Linked DNA regions of Homo sapiens: all the other regions are linked to region 2. Evidence: promoter capture Hi-C in human tissues and cell types (Jung and others, 2019). All regions are on one chromosome and are shown on one strand. Each heading gives the region's core, a stretch centred on a gene start or on the middle of the fragment in contact. The rest is flanking DNA. Distances are from core to core; before and after follow the strand shown. Region 1 has its middle 5.0 kb from the start of ZNF112. Region 2 holds the start of ZNF230 (zinc finger protein 230). Region 3 holds the start of PLAUR (plasminogen activator, urokinase receptor).

Region 1 (3,097 bases), core at 541-3,040, 360 kb before region 2:
CACTTGAGGCCAGGAGTTTGAGACCAGCCTGGGCAACATAGTGGGACCCCATCTTTGCAAAAAAAAAAAAAAATTAGCCATGTGTGATTGGGCACAACTATAGTCCCAGCTACTTTGGAGGCTGAGGTGGGAAGATGGCTTGAGCCCAGTTGGTCAAGGCTGCAGTGAACTGTGATCATACCACTGCACTCTAGCCTAGGTGACAAGGTAAGACCCTGTCTTCAAAAAAAATTTTTTTTAGTAAAATATTGAGAAAAACAGTTTTGAGTGAAAATTTTTAACAGAGTTTTATAACACAAGATATATATATATGCATCCGAAATTCCACACATTTTGCCAGAAAGACATACCAACAACAGGCACACATTAAACAGATCGACCTGGTTACTGATGCGGCAGGGGAGAAAATGAGAGTGGGTAGTGGGGGATATAATGGAACAAATAAATAATATCTGTTTCTTTTTTTCTTTTTCTTTTTAATATGTGTGCCCTCAAACATTCTCCTATTCAAATAAATGATATTTTCACATTCACATTTTATCCAGCATTTCTATGTAAATAAACTAGGAAGACGGTCTGTGGACGCTTTATCTGTGTTGTTGTCAAAGGCCTGTAATATGTCTTGAAGAATATTTTCCGGAAAGAATTTAGAAGTGATTCACAACTGAATCTTGTATGCCAAGAATAGTGCACATGAACAAAACATTCTCTGACCATAGAAGGATCAATCTTTTCACCTCAAAAATCCCATAGATTATTTTTATATTTTATTAGTACTTTTAATGTTGCAGACAATAATTAAAATGCAAAGCTTATTTTTTCATTCCTTTGAAATTGACTCAATTCTTTAGTCTTCAGCCTTGCCATTAAAAAATTTCTCAATGTCTGCAAGTGCATCTCTACGAGTCTCTTCCTCCTTTTTCTCTTACTCTTCCTCCTCCTACTTCTCCTCCTCCTACATACCCTCACCTTCCTCCCCCTTCTCCTCCATCTTCTTCTCCTCCTTCCAATATGAGATTTTGCCCATGTGGATAAATTGTTTATTCTTTCTTAATGATTTATTTATTACAATCTGCTTCCTTCTCTAATCCTCATTTTTTCTCATTAGCTTATAAGATACACCTGATCAGTATGTTCATATTCATTATAGAGTTTCTCATTATTTTTAGCCCTTCCCTCTAAGTTCTGAAAAAGTTCTATGCCATATATTCAGTTTCCTTTGAAACATATCATTGATTTTTTAAAATAGACTTTATTTTAAGAGCAGTTTTAGGGTTACAGAAAACTGCTCAGAAAAACTGAGAAAGTATTAATATTTCCCATATACTCTCCTTTCCCCTGCCCAGTTTCTCCTATTGTTTGCATCTTGCATGTGTGTGGCATATTTATTACAACTAATGAACCAATTTTGATACATTATTATTAAAGTCTGTGGTTTACATTAGGGCTTACTCTTTGTGTTGTACATTCCATGGGTTTTGACAAAGCATAATGTCCTATATCAACCATACTGTATCACACAGAATAGTGTCACTGCTTAAAAATACCCTGTGCTCTATCAATTAATCTCCCTGAACCTCTAACAACCACTGATCACTTTACTGACCTTTAGTTTTGCCTTTTCCAGATTATCATATAGTTGAATTACAGTACGTAGCTTTGACAGACTGGCTGCTTTCCATTAACAATATGAATTTAAGGTTATTCCATGTGTTTTCATAACTTCATATCTCATTTCTTTTTATGGCTGAATAATACTCTATTGTATTGATGCACCACAGTTTGTTGGTCATATATCATTGATTTTACAGATTGAAATATCACTCACATTCAGAAAAGTGTCTGAATCATAAATATACATGTGAAAGTATGAATATAAAATGAACAGCTGTATAATCACCACCCACAACAAAAATTGAAGCATGGTAGAATTGCAAACACCCCACTCTCACAGCATCATGATGCTTTCTTCCCCATAAAAAGAAACCACTACCCTAAGTTTTAAGATTCCCTTGCTTTTCTTCATATTTTTACTATTTAAGTGTCCAAAATCATCCTATTGATGAATTTTGCATGTCTAATGAACTTCGTACAAGTGGAATCACACTGCATCTACTGGGTTTGTCTAGTTATTTTGCTCAACATATTTATGGGAGTCATCATGGTATTGCATGTACAGCTAAAGTTTGTTCAATGTCCTTGCTTTTACCTTGTGTAAATAACAAAAATATTTATCCATACTATCATCGATAGACATCTGGAGTATTCTCAGCATGTCATTGTGATGAATGATCCTGCTATGAACATTCTTATATGTGTATTTTGGTACACATTTCTTATAGGTTTATACACTGAGTAGATTTAAGTGTCATAAGAAATGCTTTTCAAATCGGGCTCTACAATCCACCAGCCTTAGATTGTTGCATATAGTGGGAGGTATAGGTCAATTTCAGTTTTATTTCACAATACTCAATTTAACAGCAACATGTATTGAATATTTTCCCTGTTCCCATGTTGCTGCAGCGCCCCATTTGTTGCAGATCTGAAGTCAACATGAGCATGCATATAAAATTCAAAAGATCTACACATAAAATATTAAAATTAATTAGATTAGTTGGCAAGATTGCAGGATAAAGGAGCAAATGTGGTATTTAGTAGAAATGATTGGGGTGGACATCATTATTTTGTTCCCCATCATAGAGGAAATGTTTTCAATATTTCACTATTCCTTTTGATATTTGTTGCCATTTTTGTAGATCTTTACTATTGCTTAGTTGCCTAAATTTTCTTATGATAAATGGGTGATTAATCAAACTTTTTTTTTCTCTGATACCTAGGTTGCCCTTTTATATATCATTGGCAACATTTTGTTTAGCATTTTTGAAAGTATATTTATGACGAGATAGACCTGTCATTTTCTTTTTCTTTCTTTTTTCTTTTCTTTTTTTTTTTCTTGAGATGGAGTCTCCTCTGTCACCCAGGCTGGAGTGCAGTGGCACGATCTCAGCTCACTGCAATCTCCATCTCCCAGGTTCAAGCGATTCTCCCACCTCAGCCTCCCAAATAACTGGGAATACAGGCACGTGCCACCATGCCC
Region 2 (3,623 bases), core at 839-3,338:
CTCACGCCTTTCTCCTGCCTCAGCCTCTGGAGTAGCTGGGACCACAACTGCCTGCCACCATGCCCAGCTAATTTTTTGTATTTTTTTTTTTAGTAGAGATGGGGTTTCACCATGTTGGCCAGGATGGTCTCGATCTCCTGACCTCGTGATCCACCCGCCTCGGCCTCCCAAAGTGCTGGGATTACAGGCGTGAGCCACCGCGCCCAGCAAAAATATTTTAGATATCAGGAAATAGTCATAAGGATAATGGGAATAATAAAATTGAGCATTATATAATATGGCAGTTCACTAGTTTATTCTTTTTTTTTTTTTTTTTTTTGAGTCTCACTCTGTTGCCCAGGCTGGAGTGCAGTGGCGTGATCTTGGCTCACTGCAACCTCCACCTCCCGGGTTTAAGCAATTCTCCTGCCTCAGCCTCTAGAGTAGCTGGGACTACAGGCACGTGCCATCACGCCCGGCTAATATTTGTATTTTTGGTAGAGATGGGGTTTCACCATGTTGGCCAGGCTGGTCTCAAACTACTGACCTCAAGTGATCCACCTGCCTTGGCCTCCCAAAGTGCTGGGATTATAGGCATGAGCCACCACAACCAGCCTCACTAGTTTAGTCTCTATTAGCAATATTTAAAATTTTCTATAGTTAAAAGACATATGGGAAAACACATTAAAATATAACAATTTTTAAAAAAATGTTTATCAACAAATATAGAAGTAGACACAAAGAAAGACAAAAGAAATCAATTAGAAGCTTAACAGTTACTACCTTTACATCTTGGATACATGGGTAATTAAAAAACTTTTTCTACTCTCATTTCTCCTATTTCAGACTTTTCCACAATGATACAGTTCCACAACAGTACGAAATACTTGGAAAACATGAAACAAAATAGTTGAGAAATTTTTAAAAATTCCTAGACGTCCAAGCCCACGAGCCTTGCTCTCAACGTCCTTTCAATCAGGTCCTAACTTGCTTTCCCTACGAGTCCAGCTAGTTCCTCTGCCTCAATGAGAATGTATCCAAGAGGTGATCAACTCAGGCTCTGACCTGGACTGCCTAGGTGCCAACCCCAGCTCTACCTCTCACTAGTTGGCTGCTATGCACCCTGTGTCTCACTCTCATTTTTAAAACAAAGAAAAGCAATACTTCACAGAGCCACAGTGTGGCCTAAATTTATTTGTATAAAGCACTTAGAATGAAGTTACCAATTACGGCTTAATGATTATCAACACCCATTCCCGAGGACACACTCTCGGTTGGGTGAACATCTCTATAAAGGAAAAAAGCCAAGGACCAATCACATAGAGATTTGCCCTCAGTAGCCAAGAAGTCCCCTCCCTGCAGCTCTTTTAGAAAGGTCAGGCTGGGGAAGGCGAAAGTTGTGAAATACCCTGACTGCATCGCGGTCCCCCATAAAAGTTAAATGCTCCCCGCCCTTCGTGGAAGCGGACGCAACTCGCTTTCCTAAAAAGAGGTCAGAAGGCCTCCCGGGATCATCCAGCGTCCTGCAGGGATTAGGGAGAAGGACCAGGGCCCCTGCAGCTGAAGCTATGACTCCACCCGGGGACCTGACCTCTTCGGGAAGTTAACAAGAGACCACCAGTCACCAAGTGACAGGGACTGCTTTAAGGTTCTCATTTGCGTTATCTCTTTCAGTTCCCAAAAACGATTCTACTAGGATGGTTCTAATGTCCCCATTACCAAAAACAGCAATGGAAAGTATAAGGACATTGAGTAACACTCCACGTCACACTGCGAGAAAGCGGTCGCACAGGTAGGGTGGAGAGAGGCAGGCTGAGCGAGGTCAAAGTCCTGGAAACGCTCACAGCAGGGCACAGAGGACCCCGCCAATTCCAACCCCCGGGATGCGAGCACAGCACCCCCATCCCAGAAAGCTTCCGTGGACGGGAAAAAAACCCCATTCCCCGCCCCCACCAAACCTCCGCTCTCCGCCAAGGCTTCTTTTCCCTTGCTTGGATCATCGATCATCGGGTCGTTGCGACCCCAAGCGAAGGTGACAAGTTCAGAAGGACCCGCCAGACGCAGAAATGGCTCAAACTACGCGGTTATGTAGCAACCGCAGGCTCACACACCGGAAGTGCTCGCGTCTCCACAGAGCGTCTGGACTCCACTTCCCAGAATTCCCCGGTTCAACTGCTTGAGCCAAAGGGTCCGCCATTCCATGAAGTTGATGGACTACAGTTCCCAGAATTCACTCGTCCACCCGCCTGAGCCAACTTGCCCGCGACTCAGAGTGTGTCTGGACTCCGCTTCCTCCAATGCCAAAGGAAAATGTCTATAATCTCACTCTTCAGCGGGAAGCGTTGGACTCCGCGGTGGTCCTTGACTACACACACCGCAGTGCCCACCGGGAACGTATTCCATATCTCTGAGCGCCTGGTGGGGAATGTGGACTGTGACCCTGTGAGTCGTCCGTCTCTCTTCCTGAGTCTTTGAGCGAAAATAGTGTATAGACAGGAATTCCTGAAGTCTAAACGCCTCCCACGATGACAGGAGTGTTATTGGGAAGAGAACAAACGAGGAGATAAAATCTTCAAGGATTAGGATAATCTGACGATGGGAGGTTAAAACTAACGGTTTAAAGGATGAGCCAGGTGGAATGGTTTGGCAGGGGCAATGAGGAGCAGGAAGACACCAGCCCCTACTCCAGAAGCTGTGGGACCACTGGTTTGGCAGGAAAAGCCACCCCCATTTAAGATCACAGCTACTAGTGGAGAAGCGGTGTCGTCATGGAATAGCTATCTTCCCATAAACTTTTCATGGTATTCATATTTCTCCTTAGATGTAGAAACATCAAATTTCAGCGAATGTAGTGAATTGCTCAGTACCTCAGAGCAATAATGACTGATGAAGAGCTAGGCATTGGTATCAATCTTACATTGAGATTGTAAATGCAGTAAAACGGGAGGATTCTATAGGTGAAGGAGCATGTCTTATAAAGAGTTTTCTTCCTGGCCAAGCGCAGTGGCTCAAACCTGTAATGCCAACCCTTTGGGAGGCCAGGGCAGGACGTTCCCTTGAGCTCAGGAATTGGAGACCAGACAGGGAAATACAGGGAGACTTCGTCTCTATAAAAATTTTTTTTTAACTGGCCAGGCATGGTGGCCTGATCTTGGGACTACAAGTTCCAAGTACTCAGGAGGCTGAGGTGGGAGGATTGCTGAAGCCCAGGAGTTTGATTGAGGCTGCAGTGAGCTATGATGCCACCACTGCCCTCCAGCCTAGGCAACAGATACCTCAATAATTAAAGATTTTTTTTTTTAAGTTTCTTCTTATTTCTTGGTGAAACATAATTTCTTTATTATAGTTAGCAATTTAAAAACTGGCATTGGTTAAAAAATAATAACAGTATAAAGCTAAATTAGGAAACAATTCATCTAAAAACCTGCTCTTTTGAAGGTAACTTTTTTTCTCCCTATAAACATACATTGGCCTATAAACCAATATTCTTCTTTTTAAAAAAAATGGAGTCTACTGTTTACCTATTTTTCTAAACTAAAAACTTTTCAAAATTTTGTTTAGACACAAAAATAAGGTGACTGTGCCAAACTTTTGATGCCAAACATCCGCTCTCTGAAAATTGAGTGATCACTATTCATATGCCA
Region 3 (3,385 bases), core at 560-3,059, 330 kb after region 2:
AAAAACTTGGCCAGGTGCAGTGGCTCATGCCTGTAATCCCAGCACTTTGGAAGGACAAGGCAGGTGGATCACCTGAGGTCAGGAGTTCGAGACCACCCTGACCAACATGGTGAAACCCCATCTCTACTAAAAATACAAAAATTAGCCGGGTGTGCTGGCGTGCCCCTGTAATCCCAGTTACTCAGGAGGCTGAGGCAGGAGAATTGCATGAACCCAGGAGGCGGAGATTGCAGTGGCCGAGATTGCACCACTGCACTCTAGCCTGGGTGACAGAGTGAGACTTCGTCTCAATAAATAAATAAATAAATAATAAAAAGAAAGAAAAAACTTATTATAAGCCTTTTCAAACCCACAGAAAAGGAGACAGAATGGCATAATATGCCCTTATATACTGATTACCTTTATATAATTGATACAACCATTTGGCTATTTTGCCTTTATTTTCTACTCAAGTATTTATTTATTTATTATTTTTTTGAGACAGGGTCTCGCTCTGTTGCCCAGGTTGGAGTGCAGTGGTGCAATCATAGCTCACTGCAGCTTCCAGTTCCCAGGTTCAAGCGGTCCTCCCACCTTAGCCTCCCAACTACCTAGGACTACAAGTACGGGCCACTGCACCCAGCTAATTTTATTTTATTTTTAATTTCTTTTGGAAAGATGAGGGCTCTTTATGTTTCCCAAGCTGATCTTGAACTCCTGGCCCCAAGTGATCCTCCTGCCTTGGCTTCCCAAAGCATTGGTGTTACAGGCATGAGCCACCTCATCTGACCTCTTCTAAAATATTATAAAATAAATACAGACATCAAAATGAAAACAAAAGAAAAAGAAAAAACAAAACAAAAATCCCCAAAACAACAACAACAAAAAATGCAGACATCAATAACATTCACCACTAAATACTCTAGTAAGCATCTGCAAAAACAAACAAACAAACAAAAACCAGAATCCCACCTAAGCATACAGCCATTGTCGTAACAGTGATATCTACTTTTTTGGCTGAAGTGTCTTTTTTTTTTTTTTTTTTTTTTTCTGTGAGAAGGAGTCTTGTTCTGTTGCCAGGCTGGAGTGCAGTGGCACGATCTCGGCTCACTGCAACCCAACCTCCGCCTCCCGGGTTCAAGCGATTCTCCTGCCTCAGCCTCCTAAGTAACACACACACGCCACTACGCCCGGCTAATTTTTGTATTTTTAGTAGAGACGGGGTTTCACCATTAAGTGTTTTAATGTAGGTGCAATGCCTGGAATAGCTGCTGGCCAAAATGGAGGGCTCAACACATTCCTTTAACATTTACCAAGGACCTACTTCGTGCTGGGCACTGGTCCAGGAGCTGGGGGCACAGCGGGAAGCAAAGCAAGGGTTAAGTGTTTTAAGTGTTTAAGAGATGCATATTTCAGGATGCATCTCTAGATAAGGACATTTTCCAAAATACCAGTATCCCTCCTGACAAAACTAACAAAAATCCTGTTAGCCAAATAATCAGCCACATTCATATTTACCGTCAAAGTTTTTATCCTCATTTTACAGCAGTGGAGAGCGATTGCCCCGGGTCCCACGTTAGGAAGAGAGAGAACTGGGATTTGCACCCAGGCAATCTGGGGACAGAGCTGTGATCACAACTCCATGAGTCAGGGCCGAGCCAGCCCCTTCACCACCAGCCGGCCGCGCCCCGGGAAGGGAAGTTTGTGGCGGAGGAGGTTCGTACGGGAGGAGGGGGAGGCGCCCACGCATCTGGGGCTGACTCGCTCTTTCGCAAAACGTCTGGGAGGAGTCCCTGGGGCCACAAAACTGCCTCCTTCCTGAGGCCAGAAGGAGAGAAGACGTGCAGGGACCCCGCGCACAGGAGCTGCCCTCGCGACATGGGTCACCCGCCGCTGCTGCCGCTGCTGCTGCTGCTCCACACCTGCGTCCCAGGTAGGGGCTGGGTCCCGAACGCCTGCGCCTGGAACAGGGTCTAATTGAGGGGGTTGGGGGTTGTCAGAGGATGAGTTGGAGGAATGCGGTTCAGTCCTCAGCATCCTCCCTAATCAAATAATAGTAATTCTCGTGCTTTGTGCAACGCCACGCGGCGCAGTACCTGGCACTCAGTAGCTAAGGAAATATTAGTGGAGCAAAGGCATTTAGCTTTACATAATTTAGTGAGTGCTTTTTTTTTTTTTTTTTTTTTTTTGACAGAGTCTCACTCTGTCGCCCAGGCTGGAGTGCAGTGGCGCGATCTCGGCTCACTGCAACCTCTGCCGCCCGGGTTCAAGCGATTCTCCTGCCTCAGCCTCCTGGGTAGCTGGGATTACAGGCGCCTGCCATCGCGCCCGGCTAATTTCTGTATTTTTAGTGGAGACCGGGTTTCACTCTGTTAGCCAGGATGGTCTCAATCTCCTGACCTCAGATGATCCACCTGCCTCGGCCTCCCAAACTGCTGGGATTACAGGCGTGAGCCACCGCGCCCGGCCCAAGTGTTCTTTTTTTAAATGGAGTTCTTCGAAGCCTCTTCCTTGCAATTTCAAACTAGGCGATGGGACTTTATTAATTTCGTTTCGCAGAGGAAACTAGGGCACAGAGAGGTTAGATAACTGGCCTAAAATCACACAGCCAGTGCTTGAATACGCAGGATCTGACCCTGCAGCGCCCCCCAGCGCTCTCCACGCTGCTGGGTCTCCCCCTCTGAGAAACGGGGGGACAGGACCCCCTTTTACAAAAGGCCCAAAGGGAGGCTGACTGAGCGGCGCAGAGCCAGTGCTGGAGACCCGGGACTGTCCCTCAGGACCTTTCCCTCTCACTGAGGCGACTCTCACTTACTTCCCCGGAAAATGTGGGGGGCTCTGGGTCGAGGAATTCGAGAAGGAACTGAGTCAGGGCGGGTGGCCACAGGGTGTTGGGGCCGCGATGAATAACCCGGAAAGCGCTCGAGACCGCGGGAGGCCGGGAATGAGTAACAGCTCCGGGATACTCCGAACGCGCAGCTGGAAAGGGATGTCCGGGAAGGCCCGGAGGTCGGGGACCGGGCCTAGGGACTGGGCTGCAATCTCGGGGCGGAGCCTGGGGCGGGGAGAGAGTGTCGGGGAGGAGCCAGAGGGCGGGGCTGGAACCTCAAGGAAGAGCTACGGGAGAGGTTACAGACCGAGGAAGAGCTAGGAGCGGGGCTAGAACCTCGAGGCGGAGCCAGAGGGCGGGGTTATAACCTCGAGGCGTAACCAGAGGGCGGAGTTATAACCTCGGGAGGAGCTAGAAGGTGGGACTAGACTCTTGAGGGGCAGGATTATAACCTCGGGGAGGAGCTAGAGGGCGGGGCTGGAACCTCAAGGAGGGGCTAGGGGCGGGGTTATAAGCTTGGGGAGGAGCTACGGGGCTGGGCTAGGACCTCAAGGGGCCAAGGGGCGGGGGTTACGA

What was found. The method cuts DNA at HindIII sites, captures the fragments that hold promoters and counts their contacts. A contact is called where the count stands out against the background at its distance.
Region 1: a contact is called between a fragment that was not itself captured here and the fragment with the promoter of ZNF230 in region 2, in 1 of the 25 tissues and cell types used here (stomach).
Region 3: a contact is called between the fragment with the promoter of PLAUR here and the fragment with the promoter of ZNF230 in region 2, in 1 of the 25 tissues and cell types used here (IMR-90 fibroblasts).

The regions. Positions count from the first base shown.
Region 1 is chr19:44,360,113-44,363,209 of GRCh38, reverse strand. It overlaps a transcript of ZNF112 not described here. Among named protein-coding and RNA genes, the nearest start is that of ZNF112, 5.0 kb to the right of the region's middle. The HindIII fragment of the contact is 6,327 bases long and covers 1-3,097 here.
Region 2 is chr19:44,001,422-44,005,044 of GRCh38, reverse strand. ZNF230 (zinc finger protein 230) reads right to left here and starts at 2,088. Exons shown (of 5, transcript NM_006300.4): 1 at 1,938-2,088. ZNF230-DT (ZNF230 divergent transcript) reads left to right here and starts at 2,175. Exons shown (of 3, transcript NR_110727.1): 1 at 2,175-2,780. RefSeq lists an enhancer at 1,816-2,325. The HindIII fragment of the contact is 9,118 bases long and covers 1,321-3,623 here.
Region 3 is chr19:43,668,593-43,671,977 of GRCh38, reverse strand. It overlaps PLAUR (plasminogen activator, urokinase receptor), which reads left to right and starts at 1,809. Exons shown (of 7, transcript NM_002659.4): 1 at 1,809-1,912. The coding sequence starts at 1,858. LOC124904724 (a long non-coding RNA gene) reads right to left here and starts at 3,214. Exons shown (of 3, transcript XR_007067264.1): 1 at 2,795-3,214; 2 at 1,498-1,952. RefSeq lists an enhancer at 1,741-2,040 and silencers at 2,961-3,040, 3,081-3,310. The HindIII fragment of the contact is 20,050 bases long and covers 1-3,385 here.